3 separate regions of the Homo sapiens genome follow, and regions 1 and 3 are each linked to region 2. Evidence: promoter capture Hi-C in 16 types of primary human blood cells and fetal thymus (Javierre and others, 2016). All regions are on one chromosome and are shown on one strand. Each heading gives the region's core, a stretch centred on a gene start or on the middle of the fragment in contact. The rest is flanking DNA. Distances are from core to core; before and after follow the strand shown.

The links. Contacts are between HindIII fragments. The CHiCAGO score rates a contact against its expected background, and 5 or more counts as called.
Region 1: a fragment that was not itself captured here is called in contact with the fragment with the promoter of MPPE1 in region 2 in 3 of 17 cell types (naive CD8 T cells, total CD8 T cells and non-activated CD4 T cells); the score reaches 7.3 in naive CD8 T cells.
Region 3: a fragment that was not itself captured here is called in contact with the fragment with the promoter of MPPE1 in region 2 in 1 of 17 cell types (neutrophils); the score reaches 7.1 in neutrophils.

What each region holds. Positions count from the first base shown.
Region 1 is chr18:12,698,823-12,701,678 of GRCh38, forward strand. CEP76 (centrosomal protein 76) reads right to left here. Exons shown (of 12, transcript NM_024899.4): 2 at 2,136-2,291; 3 at 1,008-1,083; 4 at 157-381. It also overlaps a transcript of PSMG2 not described here. Among named protein-coding and RNA genes, the nearest start is that of CEP76, 2.5 kb to the right of the region's middle. The HindIII fragment of the contact is 2,094 bases long and covers 326-2,419 here.
Region 2 is chr18:11,906,800-11,910,092 of GRCh38, forward strand. It overlaps MPPE1 (metallophosphoesterase 1), which reads right to left and starts at 1,518. Exons shown (of 11, transcript NM_023075.6): 1 at 1,402-1,518. RefSeq lists a silencer at 1,911-2,310. The HindIII fragment of the contact is 5,797 bases long and covers 1-2,908 here.
Region 3 is chr18:12,886,754-12,889,658 of GRCh38, forward strand. No RefSeq gene overlaps it. Among named protein-coding and RNA genes, the nearest start is that of PTPN2, 4.0 kb to the left of the region's middle. The HindIII fragment of the contact is 5,305 bases long and covers 1-2,905 here.

The DNA of each region.
Region 1 (2,856 bases), core at 123-2,622, 790 kb after region 2:
GTGGATAGTAGTTTAAATTGAAAAGAGCAGTGGGAAACAAAATAGAGATTCCTCCATTATAAATCTCTCCTTACAGAAAAAGTCATTATTATTGTTTCACAATAAAACATAACAAAGATTTACTCAATTAAATGACAATTTATTACTGTTTCTTACCCAAGCTTTCTCTGTGTACTTCAAGTAAAAAGCCATCATGAAAATCTGGTTCACAGGCACATGGAACAGGTTTAGAACGAAAACGTTGGTTTCGATAATGTAAACATAAAGTAAACGTTGAACAAACTTGTCCAGGTAAAGGCTCAGGTTCTTGCAGATGTTCCAAGAAAGCTTTTCCACCCAAAACCTGAAGGTAAAGATACCTCCGTGTTGGATCAATATTAGCTGTAAAGTGTAGCAATATATATGAGGAAACTGCCAAATAACTTAAAAGAATGTGATCAAGACATTAGGAAATAAAAACTTGACAGATAAAAACCCAATACCAAAGACTAAAAAAAAAGCAAAAGAGTAACAAATTTATTACTGTATATGCCAGAATCATTTGCACTCTGGGGAGAAGATACACAAAATATGATATTCTTTTCTGAGTTTACATCCAGGCTACTTTCTCCCAGCTGGAAAAGGCATCAGAGCCAATATGTAGTATACTTTTGCTTTTTAACTGCTTATCCAACATTCCTCCACCTTCACAAACCAACTCATATAATTATCAATTCAGCAAGTGTATTTGTCAATTATATTAATATTTAAAAGCAAGGCTGTACAGTTTTTATAAAACATATTATTAAAACACAAGAAACTGGTGATGCTGTTTTTGCTTCTACCGTGCTATACATTAACTCTTCTGATATACTTCATGCAAAACAATCTGTTTTAGCCAACCATAAAATTTTAAGTATTTTATTTTGGGGGGAAAAAATGGAAATGTCTTCTATCAAATACGAAAGACTACACCACATCAATATTTACTATTAACCACAACTAAATTAATGTTAAAATATACATACTTTTTTTTAATGTCGATTGTCTATCAAAACAAATAGGTTGTTTTGGAGAGGAAGGGAGTTCTTGCTCAACACTGTCCTAGAAAGGCAGGAAAAAAAAATCAAAACAAATTAGAAAACAATTATAGGTTAAGGAAATGTCAATAAACATGACTAAGCACTGAACCTAAAGTCAACAGGGTAAGGCCCTTTCAAAGAACCCCTTATTTTCCTAGCCTAATTAAAATAATGAAAATAAAAGCCTGCATAAAAGATGATGTAAACTGATCACTCCTAAAATCAAATGCTAAGGAATTAAACTGTCTTCAAGTAATACTATCCACATAAAGCTAAAAACAAATCCTTAATACCTTCAACAAGGTTAAACTTTCTGTAAACCTTATGTAACAGTTGGCTTATAATTCCACTATGAGCTGATTTTAATAAAGTGTCATCACAGAGTAGAAGCTGTTATTAGGTCAATTTTTATAACAAACGGGTTCATAAACTTCAAAAACCAAAAAAAGGTGCTGTATTAAAATACTTATTCCCTATTGTATTATGAAGTCCATCCAATTTTCACATTATATTACCCAGGTATTGAGGTCACAGTTTCCATTATTGCCTCACTTTCAAATGAAGGCCTACTTACTAATTGTGCACTGAGAGACTATCATCCCATTATTGACCTATTTGTATTAAAAGATTTGAGGACTCTTATGCAGTCAATTATTTTCTTAAAGAAATTTGTAATTTGTTAATCATAGAGAATATAATCCCAAAAGAGTGCTTATTTTAAAAATACGCTTAATCTAAAAAAGTTACAGATCATAATGAAAAAGAACTTTGTTATGGTGAACTAATTGGACTAAAGTATGTATATTCAAATTTACAGACCTAGAAAATAAGAGAAAATTCTGTCACTGTAGAGACAGGAATAAGATATCTAACACAAATTTCATTGATACACAAAACTATTCAGTATATTCAAGGGCAGAGCTAGCCTATACTTGAAACAAGGACACTAGTAAACAGAATGACCTTGAAGTGGTTTTACTAAAACGAAAGGCCCCACATCGGAACCTTATAAGTAGTGTTACGCATTAGTATATACATATATACTCTCATTTATTTCCCTAAAAGATTACTCACAGTAACAAAATTAAGTTCTTTCATCACATCGTCAATGATTCCTCGACGTCTAAGGGCTTTGATCAAATCTTCTGTTGATAAATGCTGTTGATCAGGTGCCAATTCTTCCCGTATAGTCTCAGCAAGGATTTCTCTTATTCTACCATGGACATCCATCTATGTAGAAAACTCATATTACAATTTATAACATCACAAAGCAGTCAAATACTGCTTCTGAAGTTTTAAGGTTCTCCAGCTAACAGTAAATGCACAATTGTTACCACAATTGAATGGGAACAAAGGTAAGCTTTTAAAGAATGAATCTTTTGAGTACAAATTCTAGAAATAGTCTCCACTGGTTATCTGGCACCTTTGTTACCATTTCTCCACAAACAACACTCAACCAAAAGGAATCTTCTGAGAGGGAGTATAGTATAATCAGAAGAACACGGACTGGGAGTAGGCAGATCAAAGTATGATCTTATTACTTTCATACTTTGATCTGCCTAATGATAAGGGAATCTTACCAGCTTTCAACTTAGTAGATGTGTAACCTCAAGCCAACTTATTTACCCTTTATAAATCTGTTTCGTCACCGATAAGAATGGAAAAACCTAGTGTAGTGCCCTCTCACGATAGTGTTGTGAGGATTAAAGATACTAGACAGCACAAAGCCTGGCACACAAGGGCACCATAAATGGTCGCTTTTATCACTTCAGCATCTTGCACTCAGTCGAGCGAG
Region 2 (3,293 bases), core at 268-2,767:
GCCGAGATCGCGCCATTGCACTCCAGCCTGGGCAACAAGAGCGAAACTCCGTCTCAAAAAAAAAAAAAAAAAATTTATCTTTGAACTTTTCAATTTGTATTTATTTATTTATTTATTTTTAGAGATAGGGTCTCACTCCACCGCCCATTGTAAATCAAAAATGAAATCCTAAGACCCCTCAACCATCTGCATGGACCCCACCAAGGGCATTCCAGAGTTAACCTTGTTTTAGGTTGTTTTAAGCAAAACTTGTTTAGGCCATGATGGGAAGTGGGGGTGGAACTTGACACATTTCATCCTCCTCCCTTTTAGAATTCAGGAAAAGCAGACCAGCATTTAACATGCTGGACACTTAACTTACCTGGAGGCTTCATCTGCATGATAAAACTTCAGTCTCCACAGCCTCTTATTGTAACCCAAACATTCCTTTCCATTGATAATAAATCTTTCAACCAAATGCCAATCAGAAAATTTTCAATCTACCTATAACCCGGAAACCCCCGACCCACCCACCTCCTCAGCTGTCATACCTTTATGGACCGAACCAATGTACATCTTAATCTTACATGTATTTGACTGATGACTCATGGCTCCCCTAAAATGCATAAAACCACACTGGGCCCCGACCACCTTGCGTACGCGTTCTCAGGGTCTCCAAATGGCTGTGTCACCAGCCATGGTCACTCATATTTGGCTCAGAATTAATCCCTTCAAATATTTTATAGAGTTTTGACTTTTTGTCAACCGCAGGCTGCGTCACAGCTCGCTGCAGCCCCAAACTCCTGCGCTGAAGCGATCCTTTCCCCCACAACTTCTCGAGTAGCAGGGACTTCAGGTGCGTGCCACTACACCTGGCTTTTTTTTTTTTTTTTTTTGGTACTTTTGTTGTTATGGTGGGGGCGGGGGACTTGCTATGTTGCCCAGGCTGGTCTCGCATCTCTGGGATCAAGCCATCCTCCCACTTCAGCGTCCCAGAGTGCTGGAATTACAGGCCTAAGCAACGGCACCCAGCCTATCTTTTAATTTTTAACTTCAAAGTTATCGTTAAAAATCTAATCCCCCCAAAATATGAAAAAAATACTTAATATGCACTGACCTGTAGTTTTTCTCTAATTCACTATCTTAAATATATTAATTGCAATCTCATCAACTGCGACTTGCATTTGAAATTTTCCACCTTAAACGGTATTTTTTGATAAGATGGATTTTTTAAAAAATCTACACCAGCAAACTAGAGTGAGAGACCCCTGCAAAGTAATACATGGGCCTTAAGTCACCGAGATTTTCCAGCAAATAATTTGCAGAATGCTGTTTTTCCTAGGTTAACTTGCAATCCTAACACGGAAGGAGGTTCCGTTTTTAGAAGTTTAAATGTTGTCACACGGGCGCAAGAATACATACAACAGCCATGCTTTCCAGCTCTGCGCACAACGCCAGGCAGATGGGGAGCACCGGGCGGTGCGGGAGCCCTTTCACCAGGGCAGGGTGGCTTCGGTGGCCGAGGGACCCGGGAACTGCAGCCGGAGCCGGCGCGCACCCAGCCAACTTCCTGTTTCCGCGGTAGCGCGCGGGCCTGTCACTGAAGCCCCGCCCCGGCGACCTCAGGCGGGCGGGGAAGACCGAGTCTTCCCGGAGCCGCTTCGTCCGCCCGGCGCCGGAGTCCCACGGCCGGTTTGCGGAAGCGGGTCGTCTGAAGGGGCCCGGCGGGTGGCTCCCGGGTCTCCGCGGCCTGTGATCCCCAGAGCGGACAACCGCAGCTGGGGCTCCGTGCGCAACTCGGAGTAAAGGCCGGAACCTACGCTCGGCGGCCGCGTCCCGGCCCCTAGCGCCCTCCGCGAAGTGCCTGGCAGGCTCGGCAGTCTGAGTGTCGCGTTACAGAGTCCCCTGGGCAGTCACCGCTGAAGGGCGGGGGACGCGGGAAAGGCATTTTGGGGACACAGGAGAGCTGCGAGGGCGAAGCACGGGCGAGCTGTCGTTAGGGCCCAGGAAAGGCCCGTTGCGGGGCGCACAGGCGGGCAGGGGAACTCGCGCCCCGCGCCGCGCGCCCGGCCTCCTGACGCCAGGGCCGGCTTCTGAGCACAGCCACCGCGGCGGCCGGGGGCGGCCACTGCTCCCCGCGAGCCCGCTTCCGCGCCCCAGAAGCCCCCAGAGCCCGCGTCCGAGCTCCAGGCCTTGGAGGAGCCAGGCGGGCAGCTGACAGCCCCGGAGCCGCTCCCGGGTTCCGCGCGCGGTGGCAGCCAGGCCGTGCCTCCCCGTTCCCCTCCCGCGCCGCGCTGCCCCTCCGGGACCCACCAGGCCTGGCTGCGCCTCTTTCCTCTCCTCCCCCGGAGCCTTGGAAAGTGCCCTCCAGAGATGTGCTTAGGAAGTGTGTGATGAATAAAGGAGACAATCAGGATAACTATAATATTTATTATGCACTTGCTTTTTTCTCACTGATGTTACTAATTTTAATGGTGTAGCGCGGCGCGTTCCAGTTTTCTAAGTGCTCTCACATCCGTTCAAAAAATCCTCAAAATAAGCCTGTATATTAAAAGCAGGAGCCATTATTTCATATTTCAAGAAGTAAACATGCTCAGAGTAATAATCCACATAGAGCCTTCCAACCAGTCAATTCTGGTACATTTTCACAAATCTATGAGTGTGGTTAATACACGGAGATGTGGTTTGAGGAATTATATAGGACACAGCCAGCAAAATGCCTGGTATACAATAAGTATGCGGTAAATGGTTATTATTATTAAGAATATTGTAATATCTTCAGATATGATCAGGTGAACAACTTTGACATAATCGAAACTGGGACAGCCTGATTCCATAAACACACTAATATGGCACCGTGGATTGTTTGCAGCCTCACCTCTAAAGTATTCTCTCTGACTAACAAAGAAAGGGAAACTAGAACCAGTTAAGCTTATAACACTAATCACAGGCTAAAGGAAATACAGGGGCCAAATGAACCCATTAGATTACACCACCAGGAAGTAATCTGCCAAATCCAGAATGTGGGAAATTCTACAAACCAAATGACCCAATTTCTTTTTTCAAAAATAAATGTTCAGAGGCTGAAGTGGGAGGATTGCTTAAGGCCAGAGTTCAAGGCTGTAGTGAGCTATGATCACAGCTGTGAATAGCCACTGCACTCCAGGCTGGGCAACACAGCTAGACCCCCCATGTCTTTAAAAAAAAGAGGGTGGGGGGACCTTGAGAGACACATTAGCCAAATGCAATTTGTGGACCTTGTTTGGGTCATGATTAAGACAAACAAACTTTTACATAAATAAATGGCATTTTTA
Region 3 (2,905 bases), core at 12-2,511, 980 kb after region 2:
GAGGAATGGGCCTTCAGCAGACACCAAACCTGCTGGTGCCTTGACCTTGGACTTCTCAGCCTTCAGAACTGTGAGAAATAAATTTCTGTTATTTGCAAATGACACAGTTGCAGCTATTTCATTATAGCAGCACAAACAGACTACCCTTATAGCTAGAACTTCAGAGGCACAAGCATATCAAAATACAGCCTAAAAGCCTGGTGTCTACAAGAGCTGTACATTTATAGAGCTGGGCAGACATTTGTTATACAAATTCAGATTGTACAGATTACAGTGAGAATGAACTTCAGTTAAATATATGTAGTTTTTAATAAACTTTTAATTGAAATATACACAAAAATGCACACAAATCACAAGTGCATAGCTCAGGGAGTTTTTACAGAGTGAACATAGCTGTCTATCAATACTCAGGCCAAGAACAGGAAATTTATCTCTCCTCCAGAAAGCCCCTGGAGCGCCATCCTAAATCCTCCCCCTTGAGTAACCAGCCCCAAGCCCTCTAACACCGTAGATTAGTTTTGCCTTTTTTGAACTTTGTTTAATTATATAATATGTGCTTTTTAATGTCTGACTGCTTTTGCTCAAGTTAGTGAGAGTCATCCACGTTGTAGGAATAGTTTGTTCATTCTTGCTGCTAAATAGCATATGATTGTTTGAGTCTACTACCATTTATTTGTTCTGAATTTGGTTGTTTCCAGTTTGGCCTTCTCATGAAGAGAACCATTAAGGACATGTTTGTCCTTGTCTTTTGGTAGACATACACTCATTTCTTGTGGGCATATGTCTAGGAGTGGGATTGCTGGATTGCAGTGTATCTATATGTTCATCATACACTGCTGAACAGTTTTCTGAGTGATTGCACCCGCACTTGAGCTTGGACACAGGATAAGGATGGCCACTATCATCACTTCTGTTCTATACTGTATAGTTATAGCAACAAGTGAGGAAAATTAAGAAGTGGTATAATGATTGGAAAGGATGAAACAAAGTTGATATTATAGCCAATATATTGTACACATAGAAAATCCAAAGTAATCTACAGGTCAACTATTAGATTAATAAGTGAATTTAGGCTAGGTGCAGTGGCTCACACCTGTAATCCGAGCACTTTGGGAAGTCAAAGTGGGAGGATCACTTGAGGCCAGTAGTTGGAGACCAGCCTGGGTAACATAGTGAGACTCCATCTCTAAAAATAAAAAAATTAGAAAAAAAAATTGAATTTAGAGATGTCTTTGAAAACAAAGTCAATATAAGAAAAAGCAGTTGTATTTTTTTTTTTTTTTTTGATGGAGTCACTCTGTCGCCCAGGCTGGAGTGCAGCGGTGCAATCTCAGCTCATTGCAACCTCTGCCTCCTGGGTTCACGCCATTCTCCCGCCTCAGCCTCCCAAGTAGTTGGGAATACAGGTGCCCGCCACCACGCCTGGCTAATTTTTTAGTAGAGATGGGGTTTCACCGTGTTAGCCAGTATAGTCTTGATCTCCTGACCTCGTGATCCGCCCACCTTGGCCTCCCAAAGTGCTGGGATTACAGGTGTGAGCCACTGCGCCCGGCAGAAAAAGCAGTTGTATTTCTACATAGCAACAGCAACTAGAAAATTTTTAAACATTGGAATATAAACTATTCCGAAAAATTCTTAACAAAAGATTAGCAAAACCTCTAGTCTGAAAACCACAACATATCACTCAGAGGAATGAAAGAAGAGCTAAATAAATGGAAGGATATACGATGTAATGTCTTGGAAACTTTAGTATTGTAAAGTTGCCAGTGCTTCTCAAAGTCATGTATGAATTCAGTGCAATCTCAATCAAAATCTCACCATATTTTTGTAGTGGAAATTGACAAGCTGATGCTACCATTTACAAATAAAAATGCAAGGGGCCAAGAATAGCCAAAATAATCTTAAGGAAGAAGAAAATGGAAGTTTTACCTCACCAGATAATAAGATTTACTCTAAAGCTACGATAATTAAAACAGCGTGTTCTTAGTGTGAAGATAGACAAATAGAAGAATGGAACAGAATAGAGTCTAAAGAAGAACTCAAGGGCCAAAAGTAGCCAAGAAGAACAGATCTGGAAGACATTATCCCTCCAGATATCAAGATCTCTTATAAAGATATGTGGTATCGACGCAAGGAAAGGCAAGCTGACCAAGGCAAGCTGACCAGTGGAACTAAACAAAGTCCAGAAACAGGTTCACACATATAGTCATCCGGTGTGTATCTTTGTGTGTGTGTATTTCACAAAGGCTTAAAGTAATGTGTCTTCAATAAATGGTGCTACATCCAAAAGAGCATAACTATATGTTTCCATTTTATATGAAGTTCAAAAATAGACAACAGAATAGTGATTACCTCTGGAGGCAGCTGGGGGCTGCCTCTGGTAGGGTGGGGGTGTTGCCTGGGAAGAAGCATGAGAGAATCTTCAGGGGTCCTGGAAATATTCCATATCTTGATTTGGTTGGTGGTACACTGTTGTGTATAATATACACGTATTTGTACATGTGTGTATAAAATGTCATTGAGCTCCACATTTAAGATTTTTTGGACTTTATTATATGTATGCTAACCTCAATAAAACTAAAAAATTCCTCACTCGAGTGAAAACTTTTTTAATTTAAATAAAAATAAACGGTATTTCATTTAGAAATGGAAACCAGGCACATTATCTTACACAGTATTTCATAAACTACCATCACCTAGTGAATATAGCAAAAGACTGTATATGGCTTCAAAGCCACATAATGCACCTAAATTCTCTAAAATTGCCAGCAATTACAAAGTGATAGATATGAGCCACATAGGATCAAGATGGGGATTCACTCATTCCATATTTTGGAGCCACAAAGTATATCTGCTGCCTAGGTTTGGACCAAATGCAATTAATGTATCAAACAAAAAATCCTAA